Linked DNA regions of Homo sapiens: all the other regions are linked to region 4. The links are contacts of gene promoters, found by promoter capture Hi-C in blood cells and fetal thymus (Javierre and others, 2016). All regions are on one chromosome and are shown on one strand. Each heading gives the region's core, a stretch centred on a gene start or on the middle of the fragment in contact. The rest is flanking DNA. Distances are from core to core; before and after follow the strand shown. Region 1 overlaps MTMR1 (myotubularin related protein 1). Region 2 has its middle 67 kb from the start of FMR1NB. Region 3 has its middle 120 kb from the start of AFF2. Region 4 holds the start of EOLA1-DT (EOLA1 divergent transcript).

The links. The method cuts DNA at HindIII sites, captures the fragments that hold promoters and counts their contacts. A CHiCAGO score of 5 or more calls a contact.
Region 1: a fragment that was not itself captured here is called in contact with the fragment with the promoter of EOLA1-DT in region 4 in 1 of 17 cell types (M0 macrophages); the score reaches 8.8 in M0 macrophages.
Region 2: a fragment that was not itself captured here is called in contact with the fragment with the promoter of EOLA1-DT in region 4 in 1 of 17 cell types (M0 macrophages); the score reaches 6.1 in M0 macrophages.
Region 3: a contact is called between a fragment that was not itself captured here and the fragment with the promoter of EOLA1-DT in region 4, in 1 of 17 cell types (M2 macrophages). The highest score is 7.2, in M2 macrophages.

Annotation. Positions count from the first base shown.
Region 1 is chrX:150,700,202-150,702,901 of GRCh38, forward strand. All of the region lies in intron 2 of MTMR1 (myotubularin related protein 1), which reads left to right. Among named protein-coding and RNA genes, the nearest start is that of MTMR1, 8.2 kb to the left of the region's middle. The HindIII fragment of the contact is 4,353 bases long and covers 1-2,700 here.
Region 2 is chrX:148,046,651-148,049,350 of GRCh38, forward strand. No RefSeq gene overlaps it. Among named protein-coding and RNA genes, the nearest start is that of FMR1NB, 67 kb to the left of the region's middle. The HindIII fragment of the contact is 1,975 bases long and covers 411-2,385 here.
Region 3 is chrX:148,380,432-148,383,131 of GRCh38, forward strand. No RefSeq gene overlaps it. Among named protein-coding and RNA genes, the nearest start is that of AFF2, 120 kb to the right of the region's middle. RefSeq lists an enhancer at 1,031-1,120. The HindIII fragment of the contact is 812 bases long and covers 899-1,710 here.
Region 4 is chrX:149,538,302-149,541,001 of GRCh38, forward strand. It overlaps EOLA1-DT (EOLA1 divergent transcript), which reads right to left and starts at 1,451. Exons shown (of 10, transcript NR_027455.5): 1 at 1,400-1,451; 2 at 423-605. It also overlaps a transcript of EOLA1 not described here. RefSeq lists silencers at 862-941, 1,692-2,001, 2,012-2,081, 2,114-2,304. The HindIII fragment of the contact is 11,440 bases long and covers 1-2,700 here.

The DNA of each region.
Region 1 (2,700 bases), core at 77-2,576, 1.2 Mb after region 4:
ATCAAATCTTACAAATATCAAGAATTACAGTAAAGATCCTAATTAATTCTTAATAGGTACTCCTTGTTTAGGAGCTTTATCTTCAGTTCCTCTTTAGAGCTCATAGGGTAATAACAAGTGCAGAAACAGGCTCAGGAGGCCAATTAATTGAGATTTGGCTATGGTGCTGTCTCTTGCCTCATCCAAACTGGCAGATGCTGTTGATTATGCCTACCAAAGGAAGGCATAGCTGTGGATTAGCAGAAATTGGATAATCTGCCCAGCTAGAAGAGTGACAGTGTATTTCTTAATCATTTTTCCTGCTATGTGGTGTTCATGTTTGCCCATAAAAGAGCAGCTGGGGCTCCTGGACCTTAAAACCTGGTCGGGCAAACACACTGTCTCCAGGTGGGAGAAGCATTTGCTGCATCACTGATGCGTGAATGGCTGGTCACTGAGCAGCTGCGGATCGCATCAGTTCCAGTTGCCCTATTGCCTGCACCTTAGCTGAGAAACTGCCCGCTGAGTAGAGAGACTTAAGAACCCATTTTAGCAGAGAATAGCTCTCACACTTCGGGGTGATTTTCTTTATGGACAATTATGAGTTAACTGTAATGTTTTCATTAAGGTTGAATAGTTGTTAGTGTTGTGTGTGTCCTATAAAAGATTGAATGTCGACTGTGTGCATAGCTTTCTAACATTGCATGAATAGATCAGACTGAATCTGTACTTTAACATGAAGCAACTAAGTTTTTTCAATCTCAGTCTATTTACAAATTTTGTGTAGCTGAATTAGCTCATGTTGGAATGGTTGAACAGATGGTATTCAGAAAAAATAAGGCTTTCTTTCTTTTGGAAATTAAATTTTAAGTTCCTACATCAGATCATAGCTAAAGTCTTTGATGAATTATTGTAAGGGGGCATGTTTTATAATTGTCTTTGTTATATTTGCCCTGCAGCCAAATCTGAAAAGTTGGTGTTAAATTTATAACTCAGGGGTTGTTACACTTTCTTCAAGGAGAGTTTTTTTTTTTACATAATAAATACATAAAATATTTCTAAACCACAAGGATAATTGTACATGTTCCCTATAAAGTAGTTCTTAAAATCAGGGTAACCAAAATGGGCCTTTGGGACCCCTCTGGCATGGGAGCTATTGCATGGGGTTGACCCTGAAGAGCCAGATAAAGTTCCTTGAGGATTTAAGTTGCAGTCATCAGCTGATATTTGAAATTATCTGTTGTGTAAATGTCTTATTTGAAATACACACTTAATTTGGGGGCTAATTTATTATAGATTAAACTCAACATCAGTAATTAAATGGGAGCAGATGTTTATGTGGAGCAGAATGCTTGGCATCTTATTTGAAATGCTGATTGTCTTCTGAGTTGTAACAGGCTGTCGAGAATGGTTCTATGTCATCATCATCATCATCATCATCAACCCTCTAACACATACAGGCTCTGGGGTTTTGTAATGCTTTTTGACATGTCATCCATTTAAGCCTTAAAACAACCTAGTGAATCTGGGTGTGGTGGTCTGTAGTCTCAGCTACTTGGAAGGCTAAGATGGGAGGATCACTTGAGTCCAGGAGTTCAAGGCTGCAGTGTGCTGTGGTCACACTTGTGAAAAGCCAATGCACTCTAGCCTAGACAACATAGAGAGATCTTGCTTCTTTAAAAAAGTCCATTGAGGTAGCTATTACTACAATCATCATTTAATGGATGAGGAAACCGAGGCCTAGAGAGATGAAATGACTTGCTTAGGGTCATACAGTTAGACTTGGGATTTGAACTCAAGTCATCCTATTGAAAAGCTAGAGTGATTTTAAGATTTTGTCCCACCCCCATTCCCATCCACTGCTTTTCGATCTTTTTTTTTCTTCTTTTTCTTCTTCTTCTTTCTTTCTTTTTTTTTTTTTTATAGAGATGGGGTCTTACTACGTTTCCCAGGCTGGTCTTGAACTCCTGGGCTCGAGCGATCCTCCCATCTCGGCCTCCCAAAATGCTGGGATTAGAGGTGTGAGCCACCATACCCAGCCTCATCCACTGTTTTTCAAAATGTGACCCTTGGGTCTTCCCAAGACAGCATTCTCTGGAGCACCTGTAAAAATGCAGCTTCCCGGGCTCCATCCCAGATTTACTGAATCAGAGTGTCTGAGGGAGGGAAACAAGTGTCTCATATATTTCTTATGCATGATAAAATCTGAAAACCTAGGCTTCCTGAGTTTCTGTCTGTTGAAATTGGTGATGGGACCCTGCATTTCTGGTATATTACTAAGAATCTGAATAATTAGCAACTCAGATATTGGAGAATAATTATTTTATTATTTACTCATATCATAAATTGTCAGTCAGCCCAGGGTCAGCTCATCTAAAGTACAGTAAGAATATCGCTGGTATCACGTGACATGAGTTTAGATGGTATGTCCATGGACGTATTTTAGTAGCTATGTAATTATTTTCTTGTGTATTAGAAAAATCAGCACATCAGGCTTGTGATTTAGTAGATGTTATGGCTTAGAGCAGGCAAAGTATTAAAAAGGAATGGATTTTAAATCAATATAAAGATAAATACAAAATTAGTATGGGCAGTTGGCAGATACAGCAAGCCAAACTTGTTGAGGTGGTATGTGAAATGGCAAGTTTGGCAAGCATTGTCCCAGCTGAAAGAGTAGATAGCTATTATACTGAATTGTGTGGCAGCTAAATTAATAAATGC
Region 2 (2,700 bases), core at 148-2,647, 1.5 Mb before region 4:
CACTTCATTCTAGATACTATCTAGTGCACTAATTCCATTTTCAACTTTGCCCAATCTGCTGTTAAATCCATCTGTTGAGCTCTTAATTTTAGCTATTTTATTTCCTGTTCCAGACTTCCATTTGGCTTTTTATTGTAGATTCCAATTCTGTGGAACCTGTTCATCACAATTATTTTAAAGTCTTGGTCTGATAACTCCAATATTACCTGTTTCTGTTTCTAGCCTCTCTCTTTTTCTCTTGCTCCTATTTATTTGTATGTCAGTAATTTTTACTGAATAGATCAAGAACGTGAAGGATTAGACCCTCCTCCTCCCTGCCTATTTCTGACCCAAGAGATGAGGCCTAAACTGAGATTGAAGAGAAGATTTGAATTCAGAATGAGATTGAAGTTTTGATTTAAACTCTGAAAAGCTTTAATACCTGAAAAGAAGATTGTTTTAAAAAATGAAAGTGCTTATGTTTCTCTTATTGTTTCTTCAGAGTTTAAAAGAATACAACTCTTTGTCATATAAAAAATGGTTTTGACTGAATGCCCAACATTGTGTATGAAACATATAGAGACTCCAGATCATGTTATCTTCCTTCAGAGGATATTGCCTTTTCCTCTGTCAGGCAGCAGAGAATTAGATAAATGTAATTCAACTTGGGGCTTTGCTAACTGAAAGCTAATTTGCGGTCTTTGTATGTCCCAGTTTGCTTCTGGTTTACTCCCACTTCTAGGGCGTAGCTCTCTAGGAGTTCCAACTAAGAATCAGGGTTGTTTGTTGGAACTCCTCCTACTTATAAGGTCATGAACTCCAATTTTTCACCCTCGAACATTGTGAGCCTGCTTGCTTGCTCTACTTTGTTGATGCTTTCTGATTGGCTTCTTACCCTAATTTTCTGCACAGTTTAAACTGTAAATGCCTCTAGAAGAACACTGGTTCCAAGCGCTAGGTTCTATTCTCTGTCCCTTCTATCTCTCTGAGAGCTTGGTCTCTCAACACCTAGCTGCATTGTCCACTGAACACTTTTAATCTCCCCAGCCCCAAGAGGTGACCTAAAACTGCTCTGCTAAATTCTTTATCTCATTCTCCATGCCAAAAACATCAAGGAGGAAAATAAGTGTCCATGAAGTAAGCTCACCTTAATGAGCTCCCTTCTTTCTGGATCTAGTTTCTCAAGTCCTGGCTACCTTAGTAGCCTTCTTATTTCTTCTCAAAAAATGTTTATAAAAACCTGCCTTTTCTACTTTTTCTTGTTAAAATATTCATCTCTACTACAAGCTACTCAATCATAGAAGACCTCTGAACTCATGATTAAAATACGTGCATGCGTGTGTGTGTGTGTGTGTGTGTGTGTGAGTGTGTGTGTATGTATTTCTATCTCTGTTCATTGATTGACTGGATATAGGAGTAATGACCCTGTAGTAGCATACATACCTAACACCAAGATATTTGTTTCTATGCATCATTTCTTACTTAAACTAATCAGGTTTCTTTGGAGAAACTACTGATTTCAGTGAAAGTACAAGCACAATGTGAGCCTAGATATAGATATCTTGCTATACCAGTGATATGGTTTGGCTATGTCCCCACCCAAATCTCATCTTGAATTGTAGCTCCCATAATCCCCACATGTTGTGAGAGGGACCCAGTGGGAGGCAAATGAATCATGGAGAAGGGTTTTTTTTCCCTGCTGTTCTCATGGTAGTGAATAAGACTTACAAGATCTGATGGTTGTATAAAGGGCGGTTCTCCTGCACATGCTCTCTTGCCTGCTGCCATGTAAGACATACCTTTGCTCCTCCTTTGCCTTCCACCATGATTGTGAGGCCACACCAGCCATGTGGCACTTGAGTCCATTAAACCTCTTTTTTCTTTATAAATTACCCAGTCTCGGGTATTTCTTCATATCAGTATGAAAATGGATTAATACAACCAGAAAGTAAGAAAGTGATCAGAGAATGATGGGGACATTTCATAAGGACACAGGAAGCAACTTGAAGGGACACCCACTGGCCAAGTCTGGGATAATTTAAACATAAAAAAAATTTGGTAATAGTTTATAGTACATTGAGTTAAGAAAAAAAAATCCATAAATTCATGGTAATATTCAAAGTAAAATAAAAGGAGAGGAGAAAAAAGAATTCCCAGTGTGTTTTTTTTAAAACAGAAGAATGCCAGCTACTAAATGTAGAAGGAATAAAATAATTAGAAAAGCAATACTTTTTAACACCCAAAGTAATAATTGGCTCAGGTAAGGATCATCAGAGGATGCTAATATGACTGGGTAAAATGTTGAAAATAAGTCTCAAAATATCACTCTACAGACTACTTTTAAAGAGAAAAAATGTGCTTTCTCAATGGAAAAGTCTGGTGGTCATCACTTTAACCAAGTGGTCAAGCTTGGCAATGCCAATAGTGGTTTTGCTTGATGATGTGCCTTCAGTATGATCAAGAGGAAGGTACACAACGTCATTTATGTGATGTTCTTGCTGGAAATGTTTGATCTAACTATCATAGCGAGGAAAGAGGCAATTCTAGAATGTGAGGTATGATGGAGGACATCCTACCTGGACTCTTTAAAGAGACACTCAAATGCTCTGAGTGAATCTTGAGTGGATCTTGGATTGGAAAAACAGAAGCTATAAAGGATATTTTGGAGGATAATCGAAGGAATTTTAGTGAAGACTGGATGCTGGATGATATTGAATTCAT
Region 3 (2,700 bases), core at 55-2,554, 1.2 Mb before region 4:
AGAAACCAAAAGAGATAACCAAACATAGCAGCAAAGGAAAGTTTATTCCGCTTGTGCACAGGGGAGTCAGCACCAAGAAGGGAAAAGAAATGGGTTGCTTATCGAGGGTAGTCTGTGAGTTAGGTTTACAGGAGTTTTCTACAGGAAAGTATTACATTCGAGCATGTATAGGAGTAGGAGGGATTTTTCTAGTGCTTGTGCATTGGCTCAACATGCTTTTTCATACATCATATGTAGAATTAGCATTTTACATCTCCACCTCTGGGCATGATTTTTAACATTAAAATAAGGAAGGGGTAACTGTAGTTCGAAGTTTAACTCTAACTGCACATGCAGGGCCCTGGGGAAGTCCCTAGCCCCCGAAGCAGGAATTTGTGGTTAACAGCTTCTTGGGTCTTTTATTACTGATTGGTTGAGAGTTAGGTAAGCTACAGCTTGAGTAAGGAACTTGCATTCTTTTACTCCAGACCATATTAAAACAGGGAACCAACCAGCCTGCCTGTCTCATAGCTAGTTTGCTTTAATCTGTTCCCAGCTTACCTTCCTTTTCTCAGATGAAATGAGACTCATGTTAACCAAAATGCCATCCTACCTTTTGTCTTTTGACTAGACACATTGTAGAGGTTTGGATTTGTTAACCTGGAATGGGAAAGGCTGAGAGGGGAAATGATCCTGGGTATGCTAATGAGCAGAAAGAAAACAAGGATGGCACGGATACCTCTCTCTCCCCCTTCTATGTGTGTCCTCTACCTGTTGTACATTCGTATGAGATAGGTATTAATATAACCTACACTTCGTAGGTGACGAAACAGTCTCAGAGAGTGAAAGGGACTTGACCAAAGTCACAGAGCCAGTGAGTGACAGGGTCAGGGAGAGAAGCCACGTCTGCATGACTCAAAGCTTATGTCTCTAATTACCCTACATACTACCCCGCCGCCTTTGCAAGTTATAAATAGGTCATGCTGGCTTTACTCATTAAGTCCTGGGTTGCTAAAGTGAAAGAAAAACTTCCTTCCCAGTATGCCTTGTACACATCCTGAAACTGAAAGAAAGCACTTTAGAACAAATTAAAGGCAGTTGTCTTCTGTGTCTTAGGGAACAAAAATACTAATTGTATTTTTAACCTCAAATTGTAGAGCCTGAAAAGACTGGCTTGAGAAGGAGCCTAGGTCATTCCCTGGACACCTAGAGGTCTAGAGGGCATAATAGAGGTCCACAAGTTTTTCTCAATGTGAAACAAACAATAATCCTCCCAACCAGACAGAGAATTTACATACGCTCCCTTTCAGACCGGGCAGGCAGACAAAGTCACAAGTGCTTTGACTTTGGGCTAAGGATTCTGTCAGGTCCATCAATCCTTTAACCTCACCTTCACAGCCATGATAGCTAACCCTGACTGAACACTTTCTGTATGCCAGCCACTGTTCCACTTCCTTTACTCCTCATAACAACCCTGAGGTTATGACTAGTATCACCTCTATTTTGCAGAAACTTGAGGGCATCTCATGCTGACAAGAAACTAATTGGGAGTTACCCAATCCTTTCAATTAATTCTTTAAAAGGGAAAATTTATTTAATTACTCCCTCATAAATGCAGGTGGTAAAGAAGGCTATTCAAATAAATAAATGCTGTTTGATATAGCAAAATATTTCAAAATGTGTAGTCCCCAGTGAGGAGAGTTCTTTATAAAGGTGGCCTTGATGATGGGAAGCTTTGGGCTGTCGATTGGCTTAGATCATATAATGAGTGATAATCTTACTGGGCTCTCAGAGAATTCCAGGAAGTCTAATGTAAACCCTAACCTTTGGGGGCCCGTCTCAGGAAGATCAGTGACCATTCTTGCTCAAATTCATCACTAGAGTCTCTGGGCTGGGTCATCGGAATGACCCATTTCATATGTAAAGTCTTTGAACACAAGAAATCAGTCATCTTGTAACACTAAGATAACACAAAAACCCAAAAACATGCAAAAAGGGACACACGTGTATGATAAATCTGTGGCTTGGGCCCCATTTATACTCTAAAATACATCACTCTTGCCTTCTGTTCTACTTATTGTCACTGGCTGCACTTTGCTAGAATGGTCAGATCCATTGGGGGTAAAAATCCCAAGCATAGCAACAGTGTCCAAGCAGAAGCAGCAGTCAAATGTTTTTAACTATCAGAGGGAAGGCCTGTGTACCAATAATCAACTCAGAAGCCAAATCAAAGTGGGTTCCACTGTAGCAGAAATGATGTGGAGTAGAACTAGCAAGGAAGGGCAAGCAGTCCCCATCTTTTAGAATTTTGCACCAGATCCATGGAAATCTCAGTCCAGCAAAATGCATCTCAGCCAGCTAGAAGAAAACCGCTGGCTGAAAGTTTAGTGGCAGAAAATGTGACCTGATTTTCTTCAGAAATAACAATGATGGTCATTGAGTGATAACTAACTACACCCCAGATACTATTCTAAGTGTATGTTATCTCATTTGATTTTCTAGAGGGATACACAGCAACCCCATTTTGCATGGAGGGCAAAAACCTCTTCTGTGTACCTCACTGGAATATGTGTTTTCAGGAAGATAGGGAAAACATGGATGGCCTGCACCTTGACAAATGTAATTGCCATGTAAATCTTATGTGCTTACTTTTCCTAATACCAGGGAGTGGTTACCTGGAGCCCTGGTGTCTTTGGAAGGACCAGATACCCCATAGCTTTT
Region 4 (2,700 bases), core at 201-2,700:
GCAGCCACAAGTCTTACAGAGCAATTACCACCCTGGGTTGCAAGAGCCTAACGTGGGGTGGGGACGGGGGAGGTACAAAATGCTATCAGAGCTGGAGACGAAAGTCTCTAATACTCGGAGTGGGGCTGTGAAGGTGACTTTAAAGTTGTGCCTTGAAGGAGGCCAGGAGCGCACCAGGACAAGGCCATGGGAACCGCCGGTGCAAAGCAGGGAGACCTGGAACAGCAGGCTGGTGGGGACCAGTGACTGAACAGCACAGCGTGAACCCAAAGAGTGTTTGGCTTAAGGGTGGGGAGAGCTGAGCCGACTCCCTGAACTGCTAGGACTTAAACCTGAGAAGGCCCAGCAGCGTTTTCACTAGAGGATTGCTGGGGACAGATTTGTGACTTAGAAACTGAGCCGATGGAATGTGGACGACAGACCTGAGGGAAGAAAGACAGAGGACTCCAGGTTGCTCAGGAGGCTCATGGAACAGTGCAGGCTCCAGACCACGAGGCCTGAATTCTGGAAGTAGCAGCGGGGATGCAGGACGAGGAGCCGTTTTGTCTCATCAGGCACTCCAGAGGCAGGGACCCAGAACTTGGTTATGAAGTCAATGCGGGAGACTAGATAAGGGGAGGGACAGAGGAGTAAAGCATGGCAGCACTACAGAACCTGAGCCCGTGACTGAGAGAAGAGAGTTTGAAAAGCAAGTTTGCCAGGGAAGTTGGGCTGTGTGCTGGGCGACTTAGGTCGGAGGAGGCAAGACATTAAGAGTGGGGATGTTTCTCATCACCTGCAAAAGAGACGTTAAAGAGACGGTTCCTCCGGACCCCACTGGCAGGCACTGACAGAGCGGCTAGGACACAGGAGAGCAGGCCTGGGGGGCTCAGCCCTGCAAGACTCAGCCTAGAGCTGCATAGACCCCAGTCAAGTGTTCCCGCCCTTCTTGCTGCTTCCGTGCCCTATGGGGGTAGACACTGGAGGTGCAGTTAGGTCGCTGCGGGCAAGTTTTGACTCTTGCCTAAGGGTGCATCACAGAAGGGCCTCAGCTCCCTCCCCCAGCTCCACCCACAGCTCCACCCCCAGTTCGGCTCTGCTTCATTTCACCAGCATCTCCACCCCCAGCTCCTCCTCCGGCAGCTCCGCCCCAGCTGTTCCGCCCCCAGCTCTTCCTCCTCCCAGCACTTAACCAGTTCCACCCACAGCTCTTTCCCACAACTACGCCCTCCTCTTGCAGGCGGCTCCTCCAGAAGCTCTAACCCAGTTCCTGCTGCAGCCCCACCCTGCTCACCCTGCATCTCCAGTCCCAGCTCCGCCTCCTCTAGCCCCGTCCCGCTTCTCCTACCCCTCTGCCCACCCCAGCACCTTTCAGCTCTTTCCTCCAGCTCTGCACTAGCTCCTCCCCCACCATTCTCACCCGCCAGCCTTACTCCAGCTTGGCTCCCCCTTCTCCAGCAATTTCCCGCAGCCCCGCCCCATCTGCTCCCACACCTCTTTGCCACAGCCCCGCCCTGCTCCTCCTCCAGGAACGCCCGGCTTTCCCTCAGCTCCACGCTGCAGCTGAGCTGTGCACCAGGCCCTCCCACAGAGCTTTCTCGTGATTCCACCCTACACCTCCCCAAGCCCCCGCTCCCCTAAGCTGGTTCTCAGGAGTCCGAGGGGTCCTCCCGCAGCTGCTCCTCGCTCAGTTCTCCCATTGCCCCGCCCTGCTCTTCGCGGGGCTGCTTCCAAAGCCCCGACCTCAGCCAGCAGTTTCTCTCAGCCCCGCCCCTCCCTGCCCCGCCCCTCCCCTCCCTGCCCCGCCCCGCTTCTCCCGCGGCTGCTCCCAAAGCCCCGCCCTCGGCCCCCTCCCCAGCAGTTTCTCTCAGCCCCGCCCCACCCCGAGCCCCGCCCGCAGCCCCGACCTGCTTCTCCTGTGGCTGCCTCCAAAGCCCCGCCCCCAAACCTTCCCCAGCATTCTCAGCCCCCCCAGAGCCCCGCCTCTCCCAGCCCCGCCCTACTTCTCACGCAGCTGCTTTAAAAACCCCGCCCCCAGCCCCTCCCAGTGATTTCTTTCTCCCCCTCCCTCCTTCTCTCAGCGGACACCTGCCTCCCCCTGCTGATTCTCAAGAGTCCGCGAGCTCTTCCTGCAGCTTCTCCTCGCTCAGCTCTCCCACGGCCCTGCCCACAATGGTTTCTCTCAGCCCCGCCCGGCCCTGCCCCACACCCCGCCTCTTATCTCAGCCCCGCCCTCAACCCAGCCCCCAATTGTTTCTGTCAGTCCCGCTCGGCCCCTCCCCCAGCTCCGCCCTCCTCCTCTCAGCCCCGCCTCCACCCCCTCCCCAGCGGTTTCTCCCAGCTCCTCCCTGCTGGTATAGCAGCTCTGGGCCCAAAACTCCTGCCTGGTGTCCTCGTCCCACCCTTCCACTTACTCTTCCTCCCTCCCGTTCCTTTTCCTCCTTCCGGTTCTTCGTCGAGGCTGCCGGTCTCGAGGTCCCCTGGCCTTGGCCTGGTTGGCTGGCGCGCATCAGGGCCAGGTAAAGAGAATAGCGTCTCCTAGCAGCCAGGGCGTGCGTACGTGCGTGATGTCGTCAGTGCGTGTCTTCGAGAATGCGAGATTCATAATGTTTGCTGTCTATATGCATGGCTGAGTACGTGCCTCCCGCGTACGTGCGTGGTGTGCATACATGCGTGATTGCGCGCCCACGTACGTTCTTCGTGAAAGGGATGACGGGAGCT